2 separate regions of the Homo sapiens genome follow, and region 2 is linked to region 1. Evidence: promoter capture Hi-C in human tissues and cell types (Jung and others, 2019). All regions are on one chromosome and are shown on one strand. Each heading gives the region's core, a stretch centred on a gene start or on the middle of the fragment in contact. The rest is flanking DNA. Distances are from core to core; before and after follow the strand shown.

Evidence for each region. The method cuts DNA at HindIII sites, captures the fragments that hold promoters and counts their contacts. A contact is called where the count stands out against the background at its distance.
Region 2: a contact is called between the fragment with the promoter of BECN1 here and the fragment with the promoter of NKIRAS2 in region 1, in 1 of the 25 tissues and cell types used here (heart right ventricle).

What each region holds. Positions count from the first base shown.
Region 1 is chr17:42,015,832-42,022,175 of GRCh38, reverse strand. It overlaps NKIRAS2 (NFKB inhibitor interacting Ras like 2), which reads right to left and starts at 2,086. Exons shown (of 4, transcript NM_017595.6): 1 at 1,972-2,086; 2 at 505-612. The coding sequence starts at 598. It overlaps DNAJC7 (DnaJ heat shock protein family (Hsp40) member C7), which reads left to right and starts at 4,737. Exons shown (of 14, transcript NM_003315.4): 1 at 4,737-4,836. The coding sequence starts at 4,760. RefSeq lists silencers at 1,793-2,202, 4,429-4,578 and enhancers at 4,689-5,098, 5,169-5,218, 4,329-5,528. The HindIII fragment of the contact is 10,906 bases long and covers 1-6,344 here.
Region 2 is chr17:42,821,933-42,828,276 of GRCh38, reverse strand. BECN1 (beclin 1) reads left to right here and starts at 3,995. Exons shown (of 12, transcript NM_001313998.2): 1 at 3,995-4,122; 2 at 4,398-4,529. The coding sequence starts at 4,400. MIR6781 (microRNA 6781) reads left to right here and starts at 4,334; the gene lies at 4,334-4,397. RefSeq lists enhancers at 3,066-3,632, 3,637-3,766, 3,633-4,201, 4,202-4,768. The HindIII fragment of the contact is 8,869 bases long and covers 1-6,344 here.

The DNA of each region.
Region 1 (6,344 bases), core at 837-3,336:
GTGCAATGGCGCAATCTCGGCTCACCGCAACCTCCACCTCCCGAGTTCAAGCGATTCTCCTGCCTCGGCCTCCCGAATAGCTGGGATTACAGGCATGTGCCACCACACCCGGCTAATTTTGTATTTTTAGTAGAGACAGGGTTTCTCCAAGTTCGTTAGGCTGGTCTCGAACTCCCGACCTGAGGTGATCCACCCGCCTCAGCCTCCCAAAGTGCTCGGATTACAGGCGTGATCCACCGCACCCGGCCAATGGACATTAATTTTATGCTAATTCCATGCTAAGCACAAGTGTGACATGACAGCTTCTCTTTCCTATCTTGGACATAGGGCTTTCTCCCTCCGTATTTGTTCAGTGTTGTAGAGTTGATCTGTTACAATGTAAGTTTTATTCTTCCAGGGGGGAAAACCACCAGGAGCAGCTTTTAGCCTGTGTGTGTTGTGATCAAGTCCTATTCCTTATTTTTCAACTTCTTCCACTGTTCCTCCCCCTCCAACAACACTCACCCACTACATGGTTCCCATACAGAAGCTGCTCCAGGATTGAAGTTTTGCCCACAGACGCCTGGCCACACACGACCACCTTGCAGCTCTTCCCCATGCTTAGTTTTCAACCTTGAAGAACAGAAGCACGCTGGGTAAGGTGAGGAAAGAAAGCATCAACACAGAAGGCAGTTACTAGCAGATGTTTTCTGGTGGACAAAAACAAAAACCAAAAAAACAGAAGGCAGAACGTCCATAACTGAGAGTTCTAAACTGAATGTATAGTTCTAAACTGAATGTATAGTTCCAGGGTTTCAGCACCATCCCAATGCTAGTCAGAGGAAACGGATGTCTCCATGTCTACTACTGGATGGTAAGCTGTTATTTTATTCGTCTTTGTTATCCCCAGTACCTAGCCAGTATCTGTCACAGGGCAGGTGCTTGGAAATGCTGCCATAAAGGGAGAGGAGAGTCACTGGCCACTGGGCCAGGTTCCCTTCTGTGCGCAAGATGTAGAGGACCAATTAGTAAAGGGAGCTCAGCCCAGCTTCCTCTCTTTAACCATGACCCCATGGAGAATTAAGCAGGAACAGTGTTTTGTGTGGCTGTCTGAAGCCATCTGCTCCCTGGGGGGACTGAGCAAATAAAAAGGATAATCTGGGGCAGGGCACGGTGGCTCACGCCTGTAATCTCAGCACTTCGGGAGGCCGAGGTGGGCAGATCACAAAGTCAGGAGTTCGAGACCAGACTGGCCAACATAGTGAAACCTCATCTCTACTAAACATACAAAAAATTAGTCAGGCGTGGTGGCGGGTGCCTGTAATCCCAGCTACTTGAGAGGCTGAGGCAGGAGAATCGCTTGAATCCAGGAGGCGGAGATTGCAGTGAGCCAAGAATATGCCACTGCACTCCAGCCTGGGCGGCAGAGCAAGACTCCGTCTCAAAAAAAGACAATCTGCTTTCCTGTACGACTCATCTGGACAACAATCAATTCCCTCTAAACTCCAGTCAAGTCTATGGCTAAAATGAACATAAGACAAGAGAGAAAAGAATGAAGAAACCTACGGAAAAAAAGGCTTCAGAAAGGACATACTTTTTGCTGCCCTTGGACTGACAGACACAAAAGAGAAAGCTCAGATACAGAAACCCTAAGAGGTCCCAGACAGATATCTCCCCGAAGGCAAACTTCCAAACACAAGCCCCCCAAAAGCTCCAGACAAAGATCCCCCCCAGAGAGCAGAGATAGATCACTCCCAAAGACGGTCCCTAACAGAAACCTCTCCAGGGGAAGCTCCTGACACAGACCCCCTCTCCATATAGCGAGCCCCACAATAAAGGACACCATAAGAGTGGGCCAGAGGTGCCTCCGCCACAGATTTTCTCACGGGGGAGCCCCCAGAGGGAATGAGAGGCAGAGACCAGCCACCTAAAGCGGCCCGGAGGCGGAGGCCGATCCTAGCGCCGGACGAGCCTCGCCTCCCAGGTCCGTACCTCCCGGGGCCCCCGCAGCACCAGCCGGGCCCTCCGAGCTCGCGGGGACCAGGGGAGGGGCAGCGCCGCCGCAAAGGCTCCAGTCTTCCTCCAGAGTCGGTGTAGGCTCCTCCAGGCCCCGCCCCCGCCGCCTGCCCGCTCCCCAGCTTCCGTCAGGCAAGACGAATTCCGGCAGCGGAGAGAGAGCGCGGACCGCGCAGCTCCCCCAGAGGCCGGCGGGAGAATGACGGCCAGGACCTGGCCTGGGTGTGCGCGGGAGCCCAAGGTTCTAGACTCCCTGGACGCGGGCCGCTGGGTGTTCTGGTGTCTCTGAGGCCCAGATGTTCTCTCTGTAAAGGCGATCAGAGTACAGTAACTCTTCGTTTACTCAATCATTTATTCGTCAAATGTTTTCTGAGCATCATCTGTCTGTGCCTGGTGCAGGGCCATATACTGAGAGAAAGTGGACGAGTTAGACATGGTGGCTGCCCATCAGAACTCACGGTCTAGAGAAGCTAGATGTCTAACAACTACTGAGGTGCTGTGGAGCACAGCAAAAGGGCATTTAACGTTGAGTCAGCAGACACTGAAGGGCCTGGGGGAAAGGGTGTTCTAGGGTGGAGGAAACGGCTACAAGTCATGGCATTTTCTGAAACTATGAGAACTTGGGTTCAATATTGGTGGTAGAAAGGACCTAAATATTGGTACTCAAATTAAATTATTTAAAAAAAGAAACAGATAATCAAAGGCTTTGTGTGGTAGGCCAAAGAGATCAAATTGACGGCAATGGAAAGCCATTGCCAATGAAGAGACATGATCAGTCCCTGAGGAAGGTCACTCTGGCAGAAGAGGGAAGACTGAACAGAGATGAAATTAGAGACCGATTAGGAGACTATTGATGTATTCCAAGTTTTTTTTTCTGTTGTTTTGTTGTTGTTGTTGTTGCCGTTTTTGAGACAGGGTCTTGCTCTTTTCTCCATGCTGGAGTACATTGGTGTGATCATAGCTCACTGCAGCCTCTAACTCCTGGGCTCAAGTGATCCTCCTGCCTCAGCCTCCCAAATAGCTGGGACTACAGATGCATGCCACCACACCCAGCCTATTCCAAGATTTTAAAAAATGATGAGCGCCTGAATCGGGATGGAAAGGTGGAGATAGATTTGGGAAATATTTGGTAGGAGAATCAACAAAACTTGGCAACAAATTGGAAGCCAAGAGTGAGAATGGTTTAATCCATTTAACAAGATACGGAATTTAGGAAAGATAATAATTACATCCAACATTTGTTTTTTCTGTTGTTGAGGTGTGGGTAGACAATGAAAAAGTTAAATTTAAATATGGTAAGCCTTGGGGATTTGTGAAACATACAAGAGATATCCAGTAGATAGTTGGATATACAGCTGTGGAAGCTGAAGAAAGGTCTAGGTTGGAGATATGAAAAGTTGAGAGTCATCAACAGATGGAAGTAAAGCTGTGGGAATAAATGAGTTGCCTTAGATAGAACATAAAGTGGGAAGATGGTGAGACAGGTTGGCTAGCATTAGACTGGACTATGAGCCACTGGCAGGCAGGGCAGGTGGTCTGTAAGTCTTGTGCCCTCACAACCTAGCACAGAGTAGGCGTTTTGGAAAGGGCTGAGTGATTGGCTCAACGAATGACCCCTCCTTTCCAACCTAGTGAGCTTGTCCTATCCCTCCCTACTCAGTGGTCGCTGTGGTTTCAGCTCCCTCCACACTGGGATAGGCAGAGTATGAGCATTGGCACATGCTGTTTTCCTGGAACAAACAGGTAAATCCTTTTAAAATTCCTTTGCCCTCTTCTTATTTTACTCTTAGCTTTACATTGTAAAGCTACTCCTCATACTCCTCCAATTTAACCCCAGAAAGCTCCAATTTAATTCAGCTCCACAAATAGTCGTTTGGGTGAGGGAATAACAACAAAGACAGTTAAACTGTGCCCTTGTCCCCTATGAATTCTCAATCCAGACCGCATTCGGCAAGGCAAGCGTGATGAGTAGAGAGTTTATATAAGAGGTGGGAGTACTGGGGACACAAGAGCAAGGACCTCACCCCGCGAGCTTCCTTATAAACTCCAGGGCAGGGTCTGGGGCGCCATGTGTCAGCTTTCCTAGGCTTAATGCTGAGATGGCACTCCCAGGCGGCTGACATGAAAGGAGCCTTGTAAAAGGGTCAGCGTCATTAGGGTGATGAACCAGTTGGTGTTTGGAGATCCGGAGTGGATGAAAGGCGCAGGGTGAAGACGCCCTGCGTTCCCCTGGCTTGACTGGGCAGGGCTTCCAGAGAACGATGAAAGCTGGGGGAACTGAGCTCAAAGTGTCTCTTGACTTTCCCGGGAAGAAGCTGTGGACACACTCCAAGGTCGGAAAGGTAGCAGTGGGGACTCCTTCCCTACAGAGTCTTGGGTCACCTGGTCCCCACGCAACCCAGACTCCACGGAGCCTTTCAGGAAGACTCTCTAGGATTGGAAGTTGCTATGGCAATGAGGCTCTTGGAATACTGAAAGCAGCCAAGCCCTAGAGAGGCTACCACCGGTACACCCCGCCTTCCCACCCACGGGTAAAGTGGCGCCGCCTACGCACCGGCACAGCCCCTGGGCTCCCGCCCCGGCGCGGAGACCACCGTGGACATCCGGGGGCGGGAGGCCGCTCTGGCCCCAAGCGGAGCCTCTCTCTGGTAGACGAGCCCGAGGGAGCCCTTCTGGGCGCGGCGCCGCGGAGCTGCTCTATGCTCCAACCGGAAGTGCTCTTCACCGCCGGCCTCCCACCCAGCTCTCTGGTCCCGGCGGTAAGATGGCGGCTGCCGCGGAGTGCGATGTGGTAATGGCGGCGACCGAGCCGGAGCTGCTCGACGACCAAGAGGCGAAGAGGTAACCGGGTAGCAGGGTAGTAGAGGAGGCGACCTGCAGCTCCGTGGCTCAGGGAAACTCGTTCCTGCCATGATGCAGCCCCCAGCTGTTGAGGCGATGCCCCGCCCTCCGCAAACACCCCCCCATCTGAGATCAAGGCCGGATGGACCCCCTGAAGGGGCGCTCTTGGGGGTCGGCCTTCCTCTCCCGCTTCCGCCTGGCGTAGGAGCTGAGGCATGGCCTTGTTCTCCAGCTGAGAGGACGATCGTCCTTATAGGAGAGGCCGAGTCTCCGAGGGCAATTTCAGAGGTCTGGTGCGAGGTGGGGGAAGCGGCGCGGCGTCGATGACGACTTCCTTACATCGCCCCCGACCCCCGCGTTCTCTTGTTAACTTCTGTGCATTGTTGCCTGTCTGCACTTTCCGTCTCCAAAACCTTTGCTCTCCTCACCCCGTTTTCCCTTGTAATTATACCCCAGCGATCACTAGTCTGGGTTCGAAGTGATTGTGTGTCTCCATAATTGACCTGGTTGCCCCCGGTTATCCCAGAAGTCAAAGATGACAGAGAAAAAAAGGAAGAGCGAGGGGCTTATCTCGTGTTCTCTACGTCAGACTCCTCTTCCCCTGTCCTTCCTGGGTGATCTTTATCCTTCCCAGCACTGTTCTTTCTTAAGTTAAGCACCAAGGAAGAGGGCAACTGCTTGGGCGCTGTTGGCACTCCGAAGCAGCCGCAGTGGTTCGAGATTGCCAGTCGGACTAGCCAAGGGAGCTGCTGAGTGAGTGGTTTTCGAGAACGCTCTAGATTCTGGCAACAGTTAGGCCAGATTATTGGAAGTGGGGTTGGAACAGAGTTGTGGGTAGTCATACTTGTTCTAATCCTAAAGCAGAATTGACAAGAAGGTTCTAGAAGTTTGGAGCCCTTTCCTTATCAGCTGCGGGTTAGTCTGACCCTTTTGTTCAAGATATCTACAGTGCCCTCAGTCTCTTTGCAACATACTTTATATCTTCATACCAAGCCCGTTGTGTCTTCAGGCTGGGTAATTTGAGGCGGTGATGTAGAATTAGTTCATGAGATCTGAAATCAGGATTCTGAGATTTTTACTATCTAATGAGTTCGAAATATAAGAAGTACTCGGACGCAATGAATAGTTATCAAGCTTGAGGGTGGTTACCACAGCCAGATCTCAAGTTCCTGATCTGCTGGGAGCTGAGGGGCCTGACAAAGTGTAATAGGCCCCTGGGATATCAGAGAAGCCAGGACACCAGAGTCCAGTCTCTGTTCTTAATTTTGAGCTTTCATGTTGTTCCTACTTCTTCCTAGATATTTAAAGCTAAGCATCATCAACCCTTATACATCATTAAAGAGCTGCACAATGGGAAACAAAATTCCTCCCAGTGCAGACGGAGCTTAAATTAATTGTAGAGATTTACTTGTATTTGGAAAGAGTTCAGTGGTTCTTTATACTGTAAATAGGGATTTGGCCACAGGTTATTTATTTTTTATTTTTTGAGACGGAATCTCGCTCTGTCG
Region 2 (6,344 bases), core at 2,746-5,245, 800 kb before region 1:
ATCACCTTCTTACCTACTGTATTAGCTTTCTAGGGCTGCTGTAGCAAAGTACCACAAAGTGGATGGCTTAGAACCAAAGAAATATATTGTCTCAGAGTTCTGGATGCCAGAAATCCAAAATTAAGGTGTCAGCAGGACCATGTTCCTTCTAAGGGAGCCAGAGAAGTATCTGTTCCAGACCTCTTTCCTGGCTTTTGGTAGCCTCAGGTCTTCCTTGGCTTACAGATCACCCTGTGTCTCTTTACATCATCTTCCCTCAGACACGGTACATGTCTGTCTCTGTGTCCAGATTGCCCCTATTTATAAGGACGCAGTCATATTGGTCTAGGGCTAACATCAATGACCTCATCTGCAACGATCCTATTTCCAAAAAAGGTCACATTCCCATGTGTTAGTCCCAGATGTTAGGACTTCAACATCTTTTGGGGGACATCATTCAACCCATAATATCTGCCATTATCTGAAATTATCTTATTAACTTGGTTACATGTTTACTGTCAAATTCTCTCCTCTGGAATATAAACTATTAGAGCAGTTCACCAGTATATCCTCTCAGACCTAGAATAGGGACTGGCACATAGTAGATGCTCAATAAACATCTGTTGAATCGATGACTGAGGATATGTTGTGTATTATTCACAATCCCTCAAGCACTACATACACTGATTACATATACTTCCCAAGTGTGAGGATACACAGAGCATTCACTATGTAACAGTCATTCCCCTCCATTCCAAATGTATCAGCTCATTTATCACACTACCCTTTATGATATTTACTACTGTATACTATTAATCTCATTTTGTAAATAAGAAAACAAAGCACAGAACAGTTGAATAAATTGCATAAGGTCACATGGTTAGTGGATGGTAAAGAACCAGGTGGTCTCAACTTCCAAATCCTCAGTTGTAACACTATACCCCCTACCTCTCTAGAAGCCCGTTACTTCTCTATGCGTTTCTGAGATGTTAGGGACAGCCAAGCAGGAAGAAACGCAGGACTATGAAGCAGCCACACCAGGACTAGGTGAGAATTCTTTGGGGATGATTCCAGTCACCTCCCCTAAAGGGGCTTTCATGCTGAAAGAGCCAAGAGGAAGAAGGATTGTAAACACTATCCCTAGTCACAAAACCGGGAGAAAAATCAATCTAGTTCCACATATCACATCCAATACCAACTATAAGAAACCACATACATTTAAAAGAAAAGAAAGACACTTCTGGAGGTGGGAATAACTTTCTAAGCAGTATAAGTCATCAAGAAAAATAAGCAGATTTGACTTGAAAATTTAAAACTTCCTGAACATCTGGAAAATAATTAAAGCATTCATGAAAAATTACTAAAAATACTGAGAAAAATACTAATAATCCAATACCTAAATAATCAAAGAATGCAAACATAATTCAGAAAAAAGTAACTACTGCTTGAGCCCGGGAGGCGGAGATTCCAGTGAGCTGATATTGCACCACTGCACTCCAGCCTGGGTGACAGAGTGAGACCGTGTCTCTTTTTTTTTTTTTTTTTAAAAAAAGGCCGGGCATGGTGGCTCACACCTGTAATCCCAGCACTTTGGGAGGCCAAGGCGGGCAGATCAGGAGGTCAGGAGATTGAGACCATCCTGGCTAACATGGTGAAACCGTCTCCACTAAAAATATAAAAAATTAGCCGGGTGTAGTGGTGGGCGCCTGTAGTCCCAGCTACTCGGGAGGCTGAGACAGGAGAATGGCGTGAACCCAGGAGGCAGAGGTTGCAGTGAGCCGAGATGGCACCACTGCACTCCAGCCTGGGCAACAGAGCAAGACTCCATCTCAAAAAAAAAAAAAAAAGTAACTACAATAAGCAAATACATAGCAAAAAGTTCAGCCTTACCAGCAATCAATGATGCTAATTAAAATAACAAGGAAGTGCCATTTTTTGCTTTTGTTCCCCAAATATATGATACCCAATACTGGCCAAGGCAATATGAAAACAGGCTTCCTCATACATTACTGGAAGCAGAATATAGTTATGTGCAAGCACTTTGGAAAATGATTCCCAGTGTTAAGGAAGAGACATTAAATAGCTGACACACTCTTAATTCTGTAGTCCCAGTTATGAGTCTCTATCATAAGTAGCCAGCTCTTCATTGCAGGATTATTGTAATCACCCACAGGGGAAATAGTAGAATTTCCAGCGGTAAAAAAATACACTAAGGCAGTACATTTAGTGTAGTGTAATGTAGCCATGATAACTACAATAACTGTGTAGCAACATAGAAAAATGTTAAATTTAAAAAGCAGAAGCCTGGGCAACAAAGTGAGACCCCATCTCTTTTTTTTTTTGAGATGGCGTCTCGCTCTGTCACCGAGGCTGGAGTGCAGTGTGAGACCACATCTCTACAAAAAATTTTAAAAATTAGCTGGGCATGGTAGTGATCACCTGTGGTCCCTGCTACACTGGAGGTTGAAGCAAGAGGATTGCTTGAGCCAGGAAGTCAAATCTGCAGTGAGCCATGTTTGTTTGTTCCGCTTCACTCCAGCCTGGGTAACAGAGTAAGACACTGTCTCAAAATAAAAATAAAATAGACAATACTACATACAATTTTGGGTTAAGCAGTGGTTTCTTTTACACCAAAAGCATAAACATTGGACTTTATTGAAATGAAAAACTTTTGGCCAGGCACATTGGCTCACACCTGTAATCTCAGCACTTTGGGAGGCCACAGTGGGGGATTGCAAGGGGAGATGGGAAATGTTCTAAAACTGGATTATGGTGATAGTTGGGCAACTGTGTAAATTTACTAAAAATTATTGAACTGTACATTTAAAAAGTGTGAGTCTTATGGTATGTAAATTATACCCCATAAAGTTGTTTTTAAAAATGAAGTAAGTCCCTCTGCTCAAGACCCAGTCATCTCATCTCATTCAAAGTGAAAGCCAGAGCTTTACAATCCCTATAAGAGCCTAGGTGGTAGCTCAACACTCTTACCTCCCTCACCCCATTTTCTGTATCTCTTTTCGTTGCCCATCTTCTAGCCACACCAGCCTCTGCTAATCCCCAAACAGGTACCCTCTGTGCTCTTGCTGTTCCCTTGGCCTAGAATGCTCTTCCTTAAGATGCAGGTAAGAATTCCTTCCTCACCTTCTTCAAGCTTTTATTTGAATATCACTTTCTTTTTTTGTTGGTTTTGTGTGTGTGTGTGGGGGGGGGGGGTTTGAGATGGAGTTTCCTTCTGTCGCCCAGGCTGGAGTGCAGTGGCATGATCTCGACTCACTGCAACCTCCGCCTCCGGGGGTCAAGCGATTTTCCTACCCCAGCCTCCTGAGTAGCTGGGATTACAGGCGCACGCCACCATGCCCAGCTAATTGTATTTTTTAGTAGAGACGGGATTTAACCATTTTGGCCAGGCTGGTCTCGAACTCCTGACCTTGTGATCCGCCCGCCTCGGCCTCCCAAAGTGCTGGAATTACAAGCGTGAGCCACCATGCCCGGCCTTTTGTTGTTGCTGTTGTTGTTCTGAGATGGAGCCTTGCCCTGTCGCCCAGGCTGGAGTGCAGTGGCCCGATCTCGGCTCACTGCAACCTCCACCTCCCAGGTTCAAGCGATTCTCCTGCCTCAGCCTCCCGAGTAGCTGGGATTAAGCTGGGATTATAGGCGTGCCCCACCACGCCCGGCTAGTTTTTGTATTTTTAGTAGAGACGGGGTTTCACTGTGTTGGCCAGGCTGGTCTCGAACTCCTGACCTCACGTGATCCGCCCTCCTCGGCCTCCCCAAGTGCTGAGATTACAGGCGTGAGCCACCGCGCCCGCCGCCCCCTGAATTTAGAGAATAGCGGAGCCTCCCCATTCTCTGCGGCCTTGGCTCCTACACTTCCCGTGGTAACCTTGTTCATCCGCTGAAGCCCGCTGCTTTTCCCAGCCCGGCCTCTGGGGGCCGCTGCCGGGCCTGTGAGCCTGTGGACCAGGAGCTCCTGCTGCCGTCGTAGCGTCACGTCCGGTCTCGGGCGGAAGTTTTCCGGCGGCTACCGGGAAGTCGCTGAAGACAGAGCGATGGTAGTTCTGGAGGCCTCGCTCCGGGGCCGACCCGAGGCCACAGTGCCTCCGCGGTAGACCGGACTTGGGTGACGGGCTCCGGGCTCCCGAGGTGAAGAGCATCGGGGGCTGAGGTGGGACCTTAGAAGGGAGTCTGGGAACCCTCACGGCTCTTATTGGAGTCCCTTCCCTGACCCTGGGCTCTAAACTGCCTTTGCTCAGGCTGTCCCGGAAGCAGGTCCTCCCCGTATCATACCATTCCTAGAGGGAACGGCGCAGGTTGGGACTTCCCTCCCTTTACCATCGTCACCAAGGCATGTGGTAACCCCGGGCCGGAGGTCAAGGGCGTCGCTTCTCCCTAATGTTGCCTCTTTTCCACGGCCTCAGGGATGGAAGGGTCTAAGACGTCCAACAACAGCACCATGCAGGTGAGCTTCGTGTGCCAGCGCTGCAGCCAGCCCCTGAAACTGGACACGAGTTTCAAGATCCTGGACCGTGTCACCATCCAGGAACTCACAGGTCAGCGAGACCCTTGGAAAGAGGGTGGTCAAGAATGTGGAAGGTGGGCAGCTTTGGTGATATAATTCTTATGGTGGCTGTGTAGTCTGCCACAAACTCATCGTGTGAACCTAGGAAAGTCACTTCATCTGGCTCCCTGTTTTCTCCTTGGAAACATAAAGCATTCTGACATTGTGGACTTCTGAGAGCTTTCCGACCGGGCGCGGTGGCTCACGCCTGTAATCCCAGCATTTTGGGAGACCGAGGCGGGCAGATCACCTGAGGTCAGGAGTTCGAGACCAGCCTGGCCAACATGGCGAAACCCCTCTCTACTAAAAATACAAAAATTAGCCGGGCGTGATGGCACGTGCCTGTAGTCCCAGCTACTCGGGAGGTTGAGGCAGGAGAATCGCTTGAACCGGTGAGGTGGAGTTTGCAGTGAGCTGAGATCGCACCACTGCACTCCAGCCTGGGCAACAGAGCGAGGCTCCGTCTCAAAAAAAGAGAGCTTTCAGTAGCAAAAGAAAGATCCTTATTTTCTGCTCCTGCTGTTTCAGAGAAAAGGAATATGTATATATAATAATAAATGGTATTTTTTGAGGACTTACTATATAGTAATACCAAGTGCATTACACGTATTACTTCATTTAGTCCCTGTAACAACCCGTACGGGGTATACCGTCATTACATCATTTTTCAGATGAAGAACCGAGGCACAGAGAGGTTAAGTGACTTACCTAAGGTCCAACAGCTGGTAAATGGAGTAGAGTCTTAAAGTCTGAAGAATTTGCTGGATGTGATGGCTCACGCCTGTAATCTCAGTGCTTTGGGAGGCTGAGGTGGGAGGATCGCTTGAGCCCAGGAGTTCAAGACCAACCTGAGCAACCTAGCAGAGATCTTGTCTCTAAAAAAAAAAAAAAATTGCTGGGTGTGGTGGGTGGTGGAGGCTGAGGCAGGAGGATCACTTGAGCCCAGGAGGTCAAAGCTGCAGGAAGCTATGATCATGCCACTGCACTGCAGCTTGGGCAACAGTGCAAGACCCTGTCTCAAAAAATAAATTAATTAAAAAGGCCAGGAGTGGTGGTTCACACCTGTGATCCCAGCACTATGGGAGGCTGAGGCAGGTGGATCACTTGAGCAGGAGTTTGAGACCAGCCTGGGCAACACAGTAAGACCCTGTCTCTATAATTAAAAAAAATAAAAAACCCCAAAATCCCGCAAAGTCAGAAGAATTCAGATTAAGTCAGACAGTAAAAGAGAAGACTGAATAGGCAGCTTAAATAAGCTTATGGGCCTGGAGTCAGCCTGCTTGGGTTTAAATCCTGGCTGTCATTTACTAGCTGAACAACTTTTTGCAAGTTACTTCATTTCTCCAAGCCTTGGTTTCTGATTTTTTCTGTAAAACGTTAAACTGCCTCATAAAGAATTTATAAAGTTCAAATATGACAAACCACAGAAACACTTAGGAATTTGCTGGGCAAATAGTATTCAATAAGTATTAGCTGCTATTATTACCTGGTTTCTCTTTCTTGAGGGGAAATTAGCTCTTTTTTTTGTTTGTTTGTTTGAGACGGAGTCTCACTCTGTTGCCAGGCTGGAGTGCAGTGGCGCGATCTCGGCTCACTGCAACCTCTGCCTCCCGGGTTCAAGTGATTGTCCTGCGTCAGCCTCCTGAGTAGCTGGGACTGCAGGCACACACCGCCACGCCCAGCTAATTTTTGTATTTTTAGTAGAGACGGTTTCACTATGTTGGCCAGGATGGTCTCGATCTCTTGACCTTGTGATCTGCCCGCCTCAGCCTCCCAAAGTGCTGGGACTACAGGCGTGAGCCACCGC